3 separate regions of the Homo sapiens genome follow, and all the other regions are linked to region 3. Evidence: promoter capture Hi-C in 16 types of primary human blood cells and fetal thymus (Javierre and others, 2016). All regions are on one chromosome and are shown on one strand. The core of a region is centred on a gene start or on the middle of the fragment in contact, and the rest is flanking DNA. Distances in the headings are between cores, read along the strand shown. Region 1 overlaps TMOD2 (tropomodulin 2). Region 2 overlaps TMOD2 (tropomodulin 2). Region 3 holds the start of SCG3 (secretogranin III).

Region 1 (2,700 bases), core at 64-2,563, 130 kb before region 3:
GATAAATAATTCACATTTTTCTCCTGACGTTTGCAAATGTCTGGATGGATCATATACTGTGGACAAAAATCTAGATAATTAACCTGAATGTTTATATTTAATCCAGTGATCTTGTTACACTAAAGACAAAGCAATAAATGCTTCTAAAATTTGCCAAAAAATGCAATCATCTGCATCAGACAGCCTTGATTAAGATACAATATTGTTGTTTTATTCAGGAATGTACTGTTTTAAAAGCTTCTCTCTTACTAAAATTTAGAAAATTTCTATCATGTTTGAAAAACTTTAAAACAGCTTTGTAAATAGCCTTTAAAGTCATGTTAAAGATTCAATTTATGTTGAATAGTCAGTAAAAGTAGGTGTGTAATTCATTTTGCTACCTGTGAGTCTGGCTTGATGCTACATTTGTGGGTTAATAAATAGACTTCTTTGCTACTGTTTTAAAGTGTCATAATGTTGTCTTGCTTTATGAAGATGACACTACTGATCTCCAATCAACAGGGCATGTGCATTTACTGATTTTTCTGGAACTAAGAGAGAATTTGTGCTAAATTGGTCACATTTTCACATGCAGTGAAAGATTGGCAATACTAACTTCTTATGTGGTCAGTAGAACACTTCTGATGTATTTAGCCTAACTCAAAGCTATGCATGTAAACAGAGATAGGCCTCTATCATAATCACAGTTACAAACACATATTATACACTAAATTCCTTTCAGTGATTAAAAAAACAAGTTCATGTAAGAAAGCAAGACAACCCAATAAGAAAGTGGTTAAATTCATTTTCCATGTCGTCACTCTCTAAAATCTGCATCGGTCCATTTGTCAAGTTGCCAGAAGTGCCCATGAGCAAATAAAACAATTGCATATATTACAAAATCCAAGATAAATAAGTAGTGCTAAAAAAGAATAACAATTAAATTATTAGTTATGTGGTTAACGGAAATGAACGAACTTTGATAAAATGGTCCTGATGGGGAAGAAGAAGAGTTTTTGTTTTTCAATGGCCATACCACAGTGAAACTTCACTTCTCCTCAAGGAAGTTTACCTTCGGTCTGCTTCAACTCTCTTCTTACGAACTAGGTAAGAAAGAAAGGAACAAAAAGACAAATTGAAGGGATATTCCTTAAATTCCAGATAAACAACATTAATCACATAAGATGACAATCTCACACACTTGAGGATACAGTTATCTTAAATTTTAATACTTAACCATGACAATCAATGGAAATGATAAATTCATCCAGTGTCTGGTGGAATTTACATTTAAATACATATATGTCTGATAGTTGGGTACTCGAGTGTTAGAACCTTCGAATTTCTATGGGATAGAAATTCCAGAAGAGACCCGTGAAACAGTGCACTTTGACTATTTTCATGGCCGTTTATCCACGGCACTTGCAATTCTGTCACCAACTGGCTTTAACTAACTCTTCAGGTTAACACAATCACAATCTTTTAATTCTGATTATGGGATGAAGTCTGGAAGGAGCTGCAAATAGTTCAAAGTTTCTGAAACTCTTCTAAATAAAAACTTCTAAGTATCAACCTACAGGAAGGTGTGATTCACTTGGCAAGCAAACTCAGAGATTAATGTTCTTTTAACCTGATGTTTAGAACCGAAGAAGTTGCCGAGACTGCCGTTTCCCAGTTCCTGCAACCCTCTTCTTCCACCTTTCACTCTCCCAACTGCAGGCTCTCCTGGTCACTGGGAAGAGGGCTATTTGAACTTTCTTGGATTTGGCAAAAAGGTGCCCTGGCTGTGGTCTTGCTCTAACTCTCCACTTTAAATAGCCTAGCTCCTACCTAGGCTCTTGCCCACAGTTGCTGCTTCTTGGACGTAGGCTGCCCTGTCCATTTTCTTCAGACCTCTCATTTTGCCTGTTTTCCTTTGGTCTCTATATTGTTTGGTTGTGGACCCAATGTGCTTTTCCTAGGTGCCTTCTGATTGCTGCTTCCACTCTTCCCCAAATCCCTATTTGCCTGTCTGTCCCTTGGCCTCACCCTGTGCACCCCCCAGGTAAGCACTGTCACGTGTCCAGCCAGCTTCCTGATGCCACACACTGCACCTTTCCTACGCCTCAGGGTCTTGGCAAAGCCTGTCTGGACAAGGAATTGGAGGCTAACCTTTATTTGCCCCTTCCCGTTCTAACCTTTAGCTTCTATCTTGCCCACTATCTGAGTCCTCCTTGAGGCCAGCACTGTACCTGGTGGAACGCCTTGCCCAGTTCCTCCATCCAAGATCTGGCATTCTGTCCCTGAACCTCAAACTGGGGATTGAAGCCTGCTATTGACTGACTGACCACTTGCCAAATGGATGTCTGCTCCTGGGTGTCCTTTTGCCAGGCTGCTCCAGGTGGCTGGGATATCCTCAGACCAAGCTTTCCCAGTTCCTTTCTTCTTTGCTATGGTTGATCAGGACATGCCCCACCTCATCCTAACAGAAGAAATGCCAGGGATCCTCAGCAACAAGTGGCCACACGAAAAACTGAAGGGGCTAACTGAAAAGGCGACCTGTGAGTTTAAACTTCATAATGTAGCTCCATGTTTATATCACATGTAAAGTGCCAAAGTATCAGACATATCCATATTTAGAACTAAGTACCAAAGCAGTCAGAAGTCAAACATAATTTGGAATCTCAGTGTCCTTGTGCCCATTTTCTGGTGCAGATAAAAACAGAAGGAGATTACATGTAA
Region 2 (2,700 bases), core at 74-2,573, 92 kb before region 3:
TCCACAGCAACCCCAGGGCTAAGACCAGTGGGTGCAAAACACCTTCTTTACCAGGTGACGCCATCGCCTCAACTCCTGCAGTGGTCAATATGGTCAATATTAAGTTCACAAACATGGGAACTTCCTGACATCATCACAGAAGGAATGAAAATGCAGTTGGGGTGGCTGGTACATTTTAGAATAAGGCTGGTTCTCCTGGGAGGAAAGAGGTTATTATTCTATGTCTTCCAATGGAATAAAAATTCTTGCTAAAGCTGTGGACTGGTTTTTAAAGCACCTCTATCCTGTGGTCATCTAATAACCCTGTGTATGTAGAAGGAAGATCTAATATATAAATCTACTGGTAGATGCAGAAAATCTTTCTTGAAGGCTGTACAAGACATGGGAGTGGGCCTAGGTAATTCAGGTCGAGAGACTTACTTTTCATTACACATTCTTTTGTACTCTTTGACCTTTTTCTATCTGCATTTTAAATAATAATAATTATTATCATGTTGCTATTGTTAAGACTAGAAGGCTAATGGACTTCTTAGCGTTTTCTGAATCAAAATGGAACAATGACTGTGGGAAGAACAAGAACTTTATAGAAATGTTGTGATGATAAAATGCCAAATGTGAAAGCTCCTTAGAAAGCAAAAGAGCTGTTGTTTTATTCTCTAAATTCTCAACACTCCTTCATACTTGTTTGCTTTAATTTCTCACAGTAACTCTTGAGTTTTGTGAGATGGGTATTATTTGCTGCTGAAATAGAGCAAAATAACATTTGCTCAGAGAGTTTAAGTCACCTGCATCAAGACTTACAGCTCCATAATGCCTTGTGTCAACCTGTCATTCTCCTACCTAAGAGAAGCTCAAAGCCTGCTGCCATGGGTGCCAGTGCATGCTCGGAGGTCATAGAGCCAGACAGGAAAGTTCCCAGAGTTCAGGACTAACCTGCAAGATCATAGAGTTCGGTGTCAGAGGCACTGGCCAAAGCTTCTTCCAGTTCTGGGTCAAGGGTCACTTTTTCTTCTTTACGAGTTTCTATAGGCTTTTCTTTAGGGATAAAGACTCTCCCTTTAAATCAGAAGAAAAACAAAAATATTGAGTACTACTGCCTTATTGGTAGGGTAAGTAGACTGAGCAGAGAATGCAGTTCTGGCCATTGAGACCCATATAATTAAGCCAGTTCATATCCAACCGAGATTCCTGGATTGCCAGGATGGTACCAACATCAATAAGTCACTGTCAGAGGGAAGGAACACTGGAGGAGGAATCCTGCATTCTGCCACACAGAGATCTGAGACTACAGTCCTTAAACACAGAGGGAAATGGTGGCTTCTACCCCTCTTATTGGCAGTACTGCCCTTGGGTCTGGGCAGGAGAGGCCCTGCCCTGAGTCGTGCACTTTAGAGAACCCCATACTAGTCTTCCTGTGGCTGTACCTCTCCCCTCCAGGGGAGGAACCATGAGGCCAAAGGGATATGCCCATCCAGCATATAGGCCACTTTCTATACCACACTTCAGGTACCTAGGACCCTGGAATGCCTTGCCCAAAGAGCCCTGAGCCTGCCTCTAGAGCCTCCACAAGCCCCTTCCCATGTCTATCCTCCAGAAGGCAGGTCATGCTGCTGGGTGTGTACCCTCAGGTCAAGGGGAGGCTATTTGTGGGGGAGCCTGGATGAAGCTTGGATATGTGGGCTTGGGTGTCCAACATGTGTGTTTGAGGCCCTGGCAGTGTGGGACAGATCAATATCCCTGCATGGAACTCTTGGAAGTCCAAGAATACTGGCCTCCTAGGTATATCTAAAGGAGGATACAACATATTTTAATGATTTGTTAGCTTTTAAATATTTGGAAAATGTGGCATGTGGGCTTCTATTTGTATACTTGCCTTGGACCCTGCAAATATTAGGAGCAGGTTCATCTAAACAGCACTAGGGGTTCCTGAGTAACAAACTGGTGATCCCCTGGAGCGCTCCCTCTAAATTGGGAATGCAGACAACTAGCATGCCATATCTGGGGCCAGGTGGGCTAGTGTAGTGACCTGGGGACATAGCCACCTCTCTAGAGTCTCCAAAGCAGGCATGATTGTAAGGAAAAATCAGGGTCACTATACTCGGAGCTAGTGGGGTTCTGTGAGCAGCAAGGCATTCTGTGCTTCCCACAGATGCATCCTCTGCCACCATCTCCCATTTCATCCTATCAGCAAGATTCCATTTATTTTGTCCCCTGCTCACTTCTGAAAATGCTGATATCTATTCCCTAACTCCCAGCTCAAACTTCTGGACTGATGAAATAACATTGCCATACCCAGGAGGATGGCACAGTTCCTGCTCCTAACTTCGAGCCAGGCCAACACATCCACATCCCACACGTGCACCAGGGACATTCTAGAGCCATGATCAAAACACCCCAGAGCATTCATATTCCTTTCTAATTATTCCCAGCTTTTGACTCTTTGTTTCTCTCTTTTTTGAAGCTGCTCTGACTTTTGGGGCACAGTCTTTGAAATTGTTCTCTTCCATTTTGATCTGTAGAGTTCCCTAAAGGCTCATCTCACTCCAGTTTCCGCCCATTGGGACCCAAGTTCTCTCCAGGTCTCCTTCGCTAGCCTGGTTTATCCCACTCCTATGGGAAAGGAAAGGGTCCAACCCAAAGTCAATAACCCTCCTGCATGAGAACTCTCCAGGAGACTTCCCTGATTACAAGGTCTGTGTA
Region 3 (2,700 bases), core at 68-2,567:
GATGTGATGCTGAGCTTACTGGGTTATTATATAGTTACTCTATGTATTCATTATACAGAACTCAATGTAAATAACTGCTAGGGCATAGAATTTACCAAAACTAGATTTCCCGTCCTAATTTCTGTCAATTAACTATTAAGTTCCTGATGTTTGTAAATTCAAAATGACCAAAATGTCACAGCATAATTACATTAAATAATAATAACTAAATCAAAATGAAATAGCATTCATAATGTTACTTTTGACCTACCTGTTCATTCAAAGGTCTTTCTGCACTTAATTCTCTATTATGTAGAGATTTGTCTAGAATAAACACATGTGAATATAAATTTAATTGTGCGTTGAAGGACAAAATATGCCTCTTATTAAATAAAATTTTTATAAAAAGGAAAAATATTAGGAGAAATAATTTTGGATGACTATGAAACAAATGCATATTAACAAAGATTATCAAGATTATACAATAATAGTAATTATCAATATTGCCTTGTTTATTATCTTGGTGTATTTCTTGAGCTGACAGAATCACACTTTTTTTTTTTTCTGACCAGAAATTTAACATATAGTTCTAACACTAGGGTTATCAGCTATTCTCAGCTAGAGAGAGCATAATTTGGATTGGTATTATTGGCACACTAAAAGCTCTTTCATCATATACTGCATATATAATGAATAGACTGTCTGAGAAAGGTTGTAAGGCAACTAGAAAACAATCCAAGCCACTTTAGGTGAAAAAGGTTCCCTTCCCTTTTCAAAATAAGATCTTTAAAAACAACCCATATTATTGCTCTATCATTTTAAAAGTGAAGAAAAAAAATCTGTCTTCTGTCTCTAAATTCGAACTGATTTCTCTGTCCGTATTCATGGATATGATTTGATCAGAAAACGCGTCAGGGTGATTTACAGCTCACGTATTATGCCAAACTTTACCTTTTCGTGGCGAAATAAAAGGAAGGTAGGAAGAAGAAAAGTGTTCACATACCTTGGCTTCCTCCAGGTTTGGGGAAAGCTTGAATCGGGAGCACTAACACCAGAATCCAAGTGCCGGTCCCGAGGAACCCCATTCTTCCACGCTCGGCTTGGGTCACAGCCCGGCGCTGGGCTCCTGGAGCTGTAGCTTTTGTTATGAATGAAAAGGAGGAGTAAAAACAGGAAGAGCCAGGAGGGTGGGTGTGGGGCGGGAGAGGGGCCGGGACTGGGCGGCTGCAGGATCTCTGACACTCGACGGTCAAGGGATAAGCAGGGTTGGGGCGCGCGGGAGTCAAGTCTCCAGGTAGAGGGGAGCGCTGTCCGCCCTGTGGGTGCTGAAGTTCCTGTGACGCGGAGACTGCGCGCCAGGGCGTAGCTTTACTCTCGCTCCCTCCTGCAGAGGAAGTGAGGAAGGAAGCGCATGCTCCATGCACGCCAGAGGCGGGAGGGGATGGCGTCGGTGACTCCAACGCTACTCCAATCCCCCGGGAATGGAACAAAGGAGGGGCGACCGGCCAGCTGGTGTATTTTCTGTGCTGCAGTCCTAGGGTGCTCCTGGGCTCAGGGTCAGCTGGCTTGTCCTAAGCGTGACAGAATTGTCCCAACCTCTCAAGTAAATGTTACTTCAAGGGCCAAATGCCTTCTCTGCCTGTGCACCTGTCAAGGAGATTTAGATAACCTTGTGCGAGGAGTTCTGCTTCGGGATTCTTCTTTTGGGATATCTGCTCCAGAATCCCTTCCTTCCATTCACCTCCTGTACCCAAAAGGTAGATATAATTATAATCTCTTTAGAAAAGCCCTGCCTTTTGTGGTCTGTGTTGACGTATCAAGCATCCCTCAGCTCTACCGAGGCTTTTGAATTGGGAAATTCAAGGAACAGTCTTCCAAATAGTCAGATTGCTGCAATACACTCTCACTCTCTGATGCTGAAACACAACAACAACAGAAACAGTCCTGAGTAGACGAGCAGCAATGGCAAATTCTCCTTTCCCCACCAAGTGGAACCTCCCCCACTTTACACACACACACCACACAACTAAATTAGAAAAAAGAAGCTGCATTTCTGTAAAATCTTGCCCAGAATTTAATTATGCCCAAAGACCTGGCTGTTCCAGGGGGTCCTTCAAGAGAGGGGATAGTCATGAAAAGCATTTTTCATCTTTACTAAGTCAGGGAGGTGCTTCCTATGTTCTGAGAATATTCCCAGAAGCCTAAGGTTATTGTATACAAGGAACTATCAAAAGACTTTAAATGATGAAAACAAGCAACATTAATGTGAGCAGGATGCTGAGTAAGCTCTTTAGTCTCTGATTTTTAAACAGAACTTGGACCTTTTCCTCTGGACTGCGGCATGCTGGGAACCAGTCTGAATAATGACCAAAGAGAAGGATTCAGCACAATCAGGCCTTTGATTTCTGCACCCTCCTTTTCAAGGAGGAAGTTATTCAAGTACCTAAAAACAAACAAACAACCAAGCTGACAAACAAATCTCCCTTGCTCCGGAGGTTTTTGAGTTTGGAAGTCACTCAAATACTTCCTTTGAGGATCTAAAGAGTATTCTAAATCTAACAGCTCCTTCAAAACAAAAAACTCTTTATTGGCAGTAATAACATAGCATTATTATCCCAGTATACTGCATTAAAAAATTAAGTCATATTTTAAAATCCCAGCTGAATGAAGGGTATATTTCCTTAGTTTCCTTTTCTTTATGATGGAAATGACAGGCTCTGT

What was found. Contacts are between HindIII fragments. The CHiCAGO score rates a contact against its expected background, and 5 or more counts as called.
Region 1: a contact is called between a fragment that was not itself captured here and the fragment with the promoter of SCG3 in region 3, in 1 of 17 cell types (neutrophils). The highest score is 6.3, in neutrophils.
Region 2: a fragment that was not itself captured here is called in contact with the fragment with the promoter of SCG3 in region 3 in 17 of 17 cell types (M1 macrophages, M0 macrophages, naive B cells and 14 more); the score reaches 10.9 in M1 macrophages.

Annotation. Positions count from the first base shown.
Region 1 is chr15:51,806,802-51,809,501 of GRCh38, reverse strand. It overlaps TMOD2 (tropomodulin 2), which reads right to left. Exons shown (of 10, transcript NM_014548.4): 10 at 1-1,082. The coding sequence ends at 1,048. Among named protein-coding and RNA genes, the nearest start is that of TMOD3, 22 kb to the left of the region's middle. The HindIII fragment of the contact is 2,147 bases long and covers 240-2,386 here.
Region 2 is chr15:51,772,068-51,774,767 of GRCh38, reverse strand. TMOD2 (tropomodulin 2) reads right to left here. Exons shown (of 10, transcript NM_014548.4): 4 at 934-1,056. Among named protein-coding and RNA genes, the nearest start is that of TMOD2, 22 kb to the right of the region's middle. The HindIII fragment of the contact is 691 bases long and covers 978-1,668 here.
Region 3 is chr15:51,680,120-51,682,819 of GRCh38, reverse strand. It overlaps SCG3 (secretogranin III), which reads right to left and starts at 1,317. Exons shown (of 12, transcript NM_013243.4): 1 at 983-1,317; 2 at 251-303. The coding sequence starts at 1,064. The HindIII fragment of the contact is 6,229 bases long and covers 1,012-2,700 here.